Regions from separate parts of the Homo sapiens genome. Here region 1 is linked to region 2. Evidence: promoter capture Hi-C in 16 types of primary human blood cells and fetal thymus (Javierre and others, 2016). All regions are on one chromosome and are shown on one strand. The core of a region is centred on a gene start or on the middle of the fragment in contact, and the rest is flanking DNA. Distances in the headings are between cores, read along the strand shown. Region 1 overlaps LY86-AS1 (LY86 antisense RNA 1). Region 2 holds the start of SNRNP48 (small nuclear ribonucleoprotein U11/U12 subunit 48).

What was found. The method cuts DNA at HindIII sites, captures the fragments that hold promoters and counts their contacts. A CHiCAGO score of 5 or more calls a contact.
Region 1: a fragment that was not itself captured here is called in contact with the fragment with the promoter of SNRNP48 in region 2 in 1 of 17 cell types (fetal thymus); the score reaches 5.2 in fetal thymus.

Annotation. Positions count from the first base shown.
Region 1 is chr6:6,575,934-6,581,209 of GRCh38, reverse strand. All of the region lies in intron 1 of LY86-AS1 (LY86 antisense RNA 1), which reads left to right. Among named protein-coding and RNA genes, the nearest start is that of LY86, 10 kb to the left of the region's middle. The HindIII fragment of the contact is 1,601 bases long and covers 2,981-4,581 here.
Region 2 is chr6:7,588,042-7,593,739 of GRCh38, reverse strand. SNRNP48 (small nuclear ribonucleoprotein U11/U12 subunit 48) reads right to left here and starts at 3,542. Exons shown (of 9, transcript NM_152551.4): 1 at 3,327-3,542; 2 at 1-6. The coding sequence starts at 3,482. RefSeq lists enhancers at 3,318-3,467, 3,046-3,785. The HindIII fragment of the contact is 5,411 bases long and covers 1-4,774 here.

The DNA.
Region 1 (5,276 bases), core at 2,532-5,031, 1.0 Mb after region 2:
CTGCTTCATAGACACAAATTGAGCTCTCTGCTTTTACTTTGAAGCTTGGATATGTGGGCTGCAATTGTAAGGTTATTGATGAACAAAGCAGGTGTTCAAAGGGTGGAAGGGGAAGCATTTTGTACTTTTCAGACAAAATGGTGCTTCATTGGCTGTGGCCTCTGCTCACCCGGAATTTGTATTATAATGTCCCTGGTCCTGAGCTGTCACTTCTTGCCCAAAAAGCTGGGCTTTCTTTTGTTACTGTTTTTGTTGTTGTTATTTGTTTGTTTTAGAGATAGTCTTGCTCTGTTGCCCAGGCTAAAGTGCAGTGGTGTGATCATAGTTCATTGCAGCCTTGAATTCCTGGGCTCAACTGATCCTCCCGCCTCAGCCTCCCGAGTATGGCACTAAAGGCATGCACCACCATACCTGGCTAATGTTTTATTTTCTAGAGACAATGTCTTGCTGTCTTGCCCAGGTTGGTCTCAAACTCTTGGCTTTAAGCAATCCTCCCCCCTGCCCCGGCTTAACCTCCCAAGTAGCTGGAACTACAGGTGTGAGTCACTGCACTCAATCTTTGTTACCATTTGGAAGTGTAAGATTGGAAACTCCCCATCAAAGTCACTGAAATAGTATTTCCACTTGATATGGTTTGACTGTGTCCCCACTCAAATCTCATCTTAAATTTTCACATGTTGTGGGAGGTAATTGAATCATGGGGGCAGGTCTTTCCCATGTTGTTCTCATGATAGTGAATAAGTTTTACTAGATACAGTTTTATAAGGGGGAGTTTCTGTGCACAAGCTCTCTCTTTGCCTGCTGCCATCCATGTAAGACATGACTTGCTCCTCCTTGCCTTCTGCCATGATTGTGAGGCCTCCCCAGCCATGTGTAACTGTAAATCCATTAAACGTTTTTCCTGTATAAATTATCCAGTCTCAGGTACGTCTTTATTGCAGTATGAAAACAGACTAATACATCATTTCATTCCACGTGTGTGTCACTGCCCTAGATGGGACTTCTCATGGCCTCCTGGGATCCACCATGGCCCCCTTCCAAATCCATTATCCAGTCTACACCCAGAGCTATCCTGTCTGAAGGCGCATCTGCCAAGGGATGCCCTGCCAAAGCCTCTCAGTGCCCCCTGCACGTACCTTTGAGGCCTCGCATGCTTTGGTCTCTTCCCATCCAGCCTCCCTGGCTGTGGGCACTCCAGCCTTGCTGCCTGCTCTCCCCTGCCCTGGCATCTCTAGTGCCTATCCTGGACTGCCCTTCCTTACCCCTTTTTTACCATATTGCCTGCACTTCCTTGAGAGTTCAACTCAGTGCTTGCTTCCTGAAGAAAGATGTTCTGTCAGGGCTGGGGAGCTCCCACTGAACTCGGCTCCTATAGCCCTGTGACCCTGCCTCTGCCTAGCATGGCTCAGGGTCAGTCATTTGATGAAGGTCAGACTCCTGCATAATATGCCAGGGAAGTTTTCTTCCTCCCACTTTCTTCCCATCCTTCCTTCCTTCTCTTCCGTTCTCTCTTTCCCCCTCACTATTGTGTGCCCCATGGCTAGCACATAATATATATTTCGCAAGATATTTTAGGCTAAATGGACAAAATATAGAGGATGAGGACAGCCCCACAAACTTGTCTTTCTGGCTGGGCCACTGGACCTCTGCATTTGGCAGGCAGGGCAAAGTAAGGTGGGGTGAGGGGCTTCCCTCCCAGGCAGTCTGGCCCTCAGGAAGTTAACAGAGTGTGAGTGTCATCTTCCCCTGAAAGTAGATCACAGTTCCTTTTTCCTCTTTTTTTGCTTCTCATTCTTAAAGTAGTATATTCTAATTGAAGGATTTGGGGGATATACAAGCTAACCCTCCTCTGTGGGGCAGGGGAACTGGAGAGACAGGAAAAATAATCACCCATAATCTCAATACCTAGAAATCACTTTTATTTACATCTTGTGAAATATCTTTCCAGTACACACATACACACACACACACACACACACAATCATACTGTACCAACTGTATATGCTATAACATTATAGTACTTCCATTGGTCACTTAGAATTCTTCCATTACTTGACTTTCAATAACTACATAGTATTCTACTGTATGGGTTGACCACAATTTATTTAAACACTTTACATGTCGACACTTGATAACAAAATAATTAATAGGAGATGATGCTACAGAGTTGCTTTATTGCTATATTTTTGTGCAGCTATGATTATTTTTTCCATCTGGTAAATACCTGAAAGGGAAATGCTCCGTGAAAGAGTTACGAGATTATTCAGGAGTTTGATACATGCTATTATGTTGTTTTCTAGATACATTGAAAAATTTAACCATCTCATCAGCCGCTAGGCATTATCATTTTACAGTATTTTTTGTTAAACATTGTCAGATAAGTGTTAAACATTGGTTCTCCTTATATTCACTTGGGTTTTTTTTTCAGCACTGATAGAGTTGAATTTTTTTTTACATTATTATTACTGGACATTTGTGTTTCTTCCTTAGTAAATTTCTGTGCAAGGCTATTACCCATTTTCTATTATAAAATCAAATTTAAAGGAAAGAAACAAAAGGTAAGAGATTGCTGAATTTAAACCTTCATGAAAATTCAGTTTAACCAGCATTTATTGTTACCTCCTTTTTGCACAGTGCTTTTTATTCTTGGACAAACATTGTTATGATCTGGTGCAGGTAAAGAAAATCCTACAATGAGATTTGTTTGAGACTTAAGTTTACTCTGTGGATAATGCCGGCTATTAATAAAATATACAGTGCTTATAATACATAAATAAAAAGAAAAATAAGTCTTGATCTAAGGTATTGCATTTGCTTGGGTGATTTGTCTATACTTATAGATGATTAACTTGGAAGTCATGTGGGAAAAGGTGAATTCAGGTACATTGTTTAGTTGCGACTCTTCAAGGCAAACACATGATTGTAGACTGCTGCTGCAGTTTTAGCTGCAACTTGGAGTACGTGGTCTTCTGGAGAAGCTTCTGAATGTTTGGTAAAGGCAGTTGTGTTTGTGTGACCAATTCCTTATATGTTTTTTAATTTTTTATTTTTAAATATGGGTGTCACTCTGTTGCCCAGGCTGGAGTGTAGTGGTGTGATTATGGCTCACTGTAGTCTTGAACTCCTGAGCCCAAGTGACCCTCCCACTTCTGCCTCCCAAAGTGTTGTGGTCACAGGCATGAAACATTGTGCTTGGCCATCAATTTCTTATATTTTGAACAAATATAAAATAGTATTGCTCAACAATTGCTCTCTCCCAAGCACTCACCAGCAGAGGACACTATATAAAGGAGGTTGCATGAGGTGGGTGGAGTTGGACAGACAGACCTATGTCTACATTCTGGTCTCACTAATGACTACTATGTCTTTGGCAAGTCACAGACTCACCGGCAAAATGAAACTTATTAAATCCATGTTTCAGATTTGAAAACAAAACAAGATAAAGATTGAACATGTATCAAAGTGTTTTATATATATATATACACACACCCATATATATATGCATATATATATATATATACACACACCCATATATATATGCATATATATATATATATACACACACACACATATACACAGAGGGAGAGACTTAAGTTTACTCTGAGGATGATGCCAACTATTAATAAAGTATACAGTGCTTACAACATGTAAATAAAAATAATTCCTGACCTAAGAATAAACACAGACGACTTAAACACACACACACCTGGTAGCCCTCATTAGGAAATAGTTCAGTCTAAATTAGAATTAGGGGTTGGGACATATATGTGAATGAACACAATACTTTAAAAAATGCTAGTGAAGAAAATATCAACAAAATAGTAGTTTCTAACAGTGTTGAATATGATTCAGAAGATTGGAGCTTCTTGGTGAACAAGTAGAAAACTACTCTTTAAAGTTAAATGAGAATAATTTACTTCCCACTCATTGGTAGACTAAAACCTACTAATTTTTGGAGAGAATGGCTGGATCAGAACTATATCCATAATTTTTCCAGGCTGCTTGGTTGCTGTGTTTTGCCAAGGAAAAAGATTACACATCATAATACAGACACTTATATAGCAACATTTATATTTTTACCCTAGTGCTTCTGTCTGCTTTATTTCTGACTCATAACAGCCATTTAAATAGGCAGTCAGATATTACATGTCTGGCTTCTCTGTTAAGGAAAAGGTCTTTGTCATACACCCGTGAATCCTTTCTGTCTTGAATGGTGTCTGGACTATAGTTCATGGTCTTAAGAGTTAGTTAACTGAACAATAATAAAAAGAAACAACTAACTTACCTTTTTGAGAGCTTCCAAGATGCTAGGCACTGTATTTTACAGGGATTTGAGGCAGGTATTGTATAATACCCATTATACAAATGAGGAAACTGAAGTTTAGGGCAATTAAGTAATTTGTCTAAGGTCTCAAAATGACAGAGCCAAGATTCAAATCCAGAGCTAATATCCAAATCCATTTTCTTAACTATAACACTTTATTGCTCCAAGTGAAGAAACTAGCAGGCAAACAAGCTCTATGGTAAAGGAATAAATGCAGGATAAGAAAGATTAGTTTTTTTGTCCATGTTCACAAAGCTTACCATTAGTGGGTTGTAACTAAATGTCTTTGTTTGCATTACTCCATCTGCCACGGCTTCCTTGGCTGTACCCTGTTCCAGCTGGAGAAGATAACAGATTAATCTGTCATGCCTAGAAGTGTTATTTGTCCTATCTACTCTTTGCTTTTTTTCATTCCCACCTCCTCCTGGATTAATATAGTATTTATTCGGTATTCCATTTTATCTCCTCTAGCAGTTTAACTATACCTTCTTGTTTTATGTTAGTGGTTGCTCTAGTGTGTTGTCCAGTAGGCTAGCCCTTTGCTATGTTAGCATGGGAAATACGGCTGAAATGAACTGAGATGTGTGGATGGTTTAACATACACACTAGCTTTTGAAGGGTTAATGTAAAACGTGTAAAATAAATAGCTCACTAGTAATTTTTTATGTTGATTACATATTGAAGTTATAATATTTTGAAGATCCTAGGTTAAATATAATACTACAATTTCCTCTATTTCTTTTATGCTTTTAATGTGGCTTCTAGAAAATTTAAAGATATATATGTGGCTTGTATTTGTGGTTTATATTATATTTCTATTGGACAGTACTGCTCTCAAGATAGTATATTAATAGAATATAAAATATATATTATAACAACATAATTCAATTAGTAATTATATAATTATCAATAATTATATATGTAATAATTATATAACTAATACAATAATTAT
Region 2 (5,698 bases), core at 2,293-4,792:
TTCATCCTATAAAAATCAAACAGAAACAAAGAAAATAGGTACATAATATTTAAATAAATAATTACCATTAAATGTTTACCATTTAATTATGTACCAGTACTGTATAGTGCATCCTCTTCTACAGGCCTCTCTCAACCCCCATGTAGTTGTGTATTAAAGAAAAATAAAACTCCTTCAACCCCTAACTCCCTAAATGCCCCTGTCCTCTCTCCACTCCTTCAAAGCCTAACTCTTTGAAAGGTGTATTTACACTCACTGTCTAAACAACCTCACCTCACCTATAACGATTCCTCACTCATTGCCACCATCACCCCACTGAAACCAGTCAATAGGTCACTAATAACCTTGTTACTAAAGCCAAAAACATGTCACTGTCTTGTTTTATCTGAACTCTTGGAAGGTCACACTCCAATTGTCCATCTGTGATTCTGACACACCCCTCATGTTCTTTCTACCTCTCTGGCTTCTTCTACTTGGTCTCCTCTAAATATCCTAAATATCTGTCTTCCTTGCTCTATTTGTCCCCCTTTAGATGTTGGTTTTCATGTAAGTATTAATATAACCACTGACCTTTTGCTGTTTAATATATGCTTACTGAAAGATCTCAAAGCTACAACTCTCACTATACAGTGAGGACTCCCAAAATTTAGATCTTTAAACCTTGTTTCTCTCCAGTACCGTATATTAAAGACACTAAAAGTTCAACACAAACAAAAATAAATTAATTATATTCATCATCTCCCAACCCTCAAATCTATTCCTTTTGTACTTTTCTATTTCAGTGAAAGGTCCCCCTTGCTCAAGCAAGAAACTACTTCTCCCTCATCACCCACGTCCAATCAATCACCTAGTCCTGCCAATTTAACTCCTAAATATTTCTGAAAATCCCTCAACATCCTCCATCCCCACTGCCACTTCCCCAACTCAGGGTATCATCAACTCTCTCCTGGAATACAACACCATCTCCTGACTACGCTCGCTCGCTCTCTCTCACTCTTGCTCTCTCTCTCTGCTTCCAGTCTTGCTGCCCTCCCCTTCAGTTTCCATCCTGTAGCTGGTTTGAATTCCATCTCTGCCACTTACTGGCTGCATGAAACTGGGTGAGGTACTTAATCTCTCTTTGCCTCATTTTCTATTATATAAAATAAAAATAATAGCAGGACCTCTCTCACAAAGTGATTGTGAAGATTTAAAAAAGTATACCAAAGTTTATACACATAAAGGAATTCAAATAGGGCCTGGTACATAGCAAGCATTCAATAAATGTATGCTATTATTTTATTAAAAGGTAAATGTGATTATAATATGCCCTGGCTTAAAATAATTCCATACCTCCCCACTGCCTTCATTAAAAAAAAAAAAAAAAATCTAGACTTTCTAATATGGCTGACAAGGACCTTTAAGATCTGACCTCTACCCACCATCACCATTCTACTCTAACTCTACACTCTATGCTCTAGCTATCCTTAACTACTTGAGGCTTCCCGATCTGGTCACTCCCTGTCTCTGAACTTCTACACATGCTGTTGATGCTTCTTCCCCGCACCCGCCAACCCCCTAGCCAATTCAACTCACTTTTATTTATCAGCTTAGAATTCACTTTGTCCAGGAAGCCTTTGCTGACCACCACTTTGTCCACCACCGCCTACAATAAACTGTACTATAGCAATTCCAACCCCACCCATCACAGACCCATGATAATATAATGGTTCAGTTATCCGTATTACCCCTCATCACCACCAGACAATAAGCTCTGTGAGGACTAGGAACTAGGTGACAACTAGGACTAGGAACTAGGTGACAACTAGGACTAGCTCTGTGAGGACTAGGAACTAGGTGACAACTAGGAACAGATGACAACTAGGACTGTTGTTCACTAAATTTCAGTACTAAAACACCGGCGGAAATCCTAACTGCCATTTACTAGCAGTGTATCCTTCGACAAATTATCACTTCTGTGTTCCTTTCCTCGTCTATAAAATGTGGCCAAAGATACCTACCTCATAGGGTTATTTTGAGTATTAAATGAAGTAATGTAAGTGGCAAACAAAGTGCTATTTAAACGTTAATACAAGGAATCCAATGTTACCGCAATGCTGAGTAAACAATGTATGGAAGGGTCTGGTAAGCCCCACTCAGTGGAATTCCCAGCTTCAAATACCCCTCTAAATGAATATTAAAGATTTTTTAATTTCCTCTGTGCTTTTAATACAATAAACAATGAATGGTATATACAGAAATCAAATATATTTTAAATGCCTCTGAGGAATCAGTCATGTAACTTAAACCCAGGAGAAATTATCACAGCATGGTAAACCCAGAAGTAATAGTAAAGATAATGAATTACCCCACATTGGAGCACTTCCCTTCCTCTCATTCCACCGAAAATACCCCACAAAAAAACAAAAATCACGAATGTTCACTCTAAATACACTTGCCTACATTTTTAAAAAAGCAATTCTAATGTCCACAGGAGTTGCCAGTTACCACCTCTTGGTGACAACCTTTAATAATCCTAGAATTGGTGCTGTCCCAGTCAGAAGTGTCCAATTTTAAGGCACAGAAAGGCGAACTGGCAAACTCCCAGCTCTCCTGACACCGAATCTGGTGCAACTGCGGAATCCGTATGACAGATGACAATGCAAACCGCCAATCCCTCTGCAGCGCTCTGAGACACGTTCACTTATTTTCTAAATAAATACCAAATCTGCCATTCCCTCCTCACTCAACACACCTTCCTGGATTTTGTTTGTTTGTTTTTTGAGACAGGGTCTTGCTCTGTCGCCCAGGCTGGAATGCAGTGGAGCGATCTCGGCTCACTGCAGCCTCGACCTCCTGGGCTCAAGCTATCCTTCCACCCCAGCCTCCCAAATAGCTGGGGCCACAGGCTCACACCACCACACCCGGCTAATTTTTGTACTTTTGGTAGAGAAGAGGTTTCACCATGTTGCCCAGGCTAGTCTGGAACTCCTGGGCTCAAGGGATCCTCCCGCCTTGGCCTCTCAAAGTGCTAGGATTACAGGCGTGCGCCACCGCGCCCGGCCCCCGGTTTTCTTTAAACTCGAAGTTGCGCGGGAGGAGCGCCGCACTGGAGGTCGATGTGGAGCCTTCGGGAGTTCCTCGCGCGCCCCAGCCCGGAACCCAGGGACGTCAGGGTTGCTCCAGGGCCCCCGGCGCCCCTCGGGTCCCAGGCGCCCATCGCGGCTCTGCACACGGACGAGGACTCCTCGCCCTTCCCTCCGCGGCTGCCAGTGCGGATCTCCCTTCTTCCAGAGAAGACCCCGGGCCGATAGTCCCCGAAAGGGCCCCGCGGCCGCGCTCCTCACCTCCGCCGCCTCCTCTTCCCCGGGATCCAGACTATCTAGGTCCCAGCCCAGGGACGCGGTCACCTCCTCCAACGTCCGGCAGCCGCTCTCCACGAACTCGTTCAGCTCCTCCTGCAGCCGCCGCCGCTCCTCCACAGGTGGAGGCTCGCCCTCCATAGCTGCAGCCCACCCGCCAAGAGGAAGCGGCCGAACTGCAGACCGCACGCGCAGGCCTCTGGGAGCTGTGGGCGGGGCCACAGTCGCCACGTGACTTGAACAGCCTATAGGGAAGAGTCCCGGGAAGGGCGGGACTGTTATTTTGAGAGGCGTTTTCCAATCTTTTCTCAGCTCTTGCGTGCATTTGCTCTGGCCTTTCCAGAAAGATATTCGCCCTCCTCGACTTCCTCAGAAAAAACGGCTTATAGCTACAGAAAAGTTTTAAAAATAGTACAATGAGCTTTCGTTTAGCCGTCCTTCAGCTCATTGTTAACATTTTGCCAGGTTTGATTTCTCTCCGTCTCTTCTCTCCACATTCACAGCCCCACCCAATGATTTTTGCTGAATTCTTTGAAAGTAAGTTGCAGATTTTTCACCCCCAAATATGTTAGCATGCATGTTCTAAGAATAAGAACATTTTCCTGTGTAACCGCAATACATGATCAAACCTAAGAAAATTAGTAAGTCCATAAAATCATTTATTATACAGTTCATATTCAAATTTCCCCATTGTCCCCAAAATTATTTCTATAGCAGTTTTATTTTTTCAACTCATAAGCTATAATTAGTTATTGTCTCTTTTAATCCAGATCAGCCTCCTTCACCCTCCTTTTTAAATTATTAAATCATTACATGTTGTGATGAGCCTAGGCCAGTTGTCTTGTAGAATCTCTCTCATTCTGGATTTGTCAGATTTTGTTTCCCTCATGATTAGATTCAGTTTGAGCACTTTTGCAATACTACCTAAGAGATGTTGCCAACTCACGGGGACGCATAACTCAGTTATATTAGTAATGCTAAATTTGATCACTTGGTAAAGGTGGTGGCTACATCTCTTCATTCTAATAGTACATTTTCCTCTTAGGAATTGGTAAGCAATCTGTGGATTATACCTTGAGTCCATAAGAATAACCTGTTCCCCAACTCCTTGATACAGTCCTTCACTGAATCTGTTGTTACATTAGGAGTTATAAGTGATTCCGCAATAGTATCATGCCTTTTATGTTTATTAACTGGCATTCTTTCCACACCTCCATTTTAGTGTTTGCTTCACTATGGGAATCAAGGTGTTTTTAAAGTTATTGATTTAAGGTTTTTTTTTAATTCAATATAATATACTCCTTTAACATCATAATTCTTGTTGATGCTCAAATTGTCCCAAATGTGGCCAGTGGAAGCCACATTAAGCCATCTGTGTCTTTCATGTATCCCTATTAGTCCTTGAATGCTTTCTTGCTTTGATAACACAAGCTTAACTTTGTACATTTCCTACCCAACACCTGGAATTAGCCCTTGTAGTTTCCCCAAATGGTTTCAACTCCTAGAATCTAACCCATTTTATATTACTTTTTAAAATTTTTTCAAGCCCAAGTGTCAAACCTTGGTTTCCTTTTGCACTTTGTTTACCCATGTGAAGGAACTGTGGGGGAATTTTTTGGTGAACAATTATTTCTAAAGGCAAATAGCACGGTTCTCACTTAAAAAAATAGTCATAAGACTATAAATAGGCAGCACCATAAAATACAGAAGTGGCTAGAAGCTGGTAAGAGAGGAGTATGAAGTTAATGTATTCATACTCTGCCTACAGTATCTTTTTTTTTTTTTTTTTGAGACGGAGTCTGGCTCTGCCACCCAGGCTGGAGTGCAGTGGCGCAATCTCAGCTCACTGCAACCTCCATCTCCCGGGTTCAAGCAATTCTTCTGCCACAGCCTCCCGAGTAGCTGGGACTACAGGCACATGCCACCACACCCTGCTAATTTTTCTATTTTTAATAGAGATGGGGTTTCACCATATTGGCCAGGCTGGTCTCGAACTCCTGACCTTGTGATCTGCTCGCCTCAGCCTCCCAAAGTGCTGGGATTACAGACGTGAGCCACCGCGCCCAGCCCGGTATCCTTACTTTTTATTTGCATTTCCATAGTTAGCTGGTTGGTCTGGAAAAATGTGAGACTATTTCTGATGTGACATGACTCCTGATAAAAAGTTCTAGTGTATATTTCCCTGTTTGTATATGTGAACCAAATTAAAACTTAGCCCACGTCAAACATATCCTCTCTTCAGGATACAGCCCCATGTCATCTCAGAGCTTCATGACAACATTGGCACAAGCCTGGAGGGAGTAGGAAAGATTTGTCAATTGACTGTACTCTCTAGTTACTGTTTCAGCCCGAGGAAC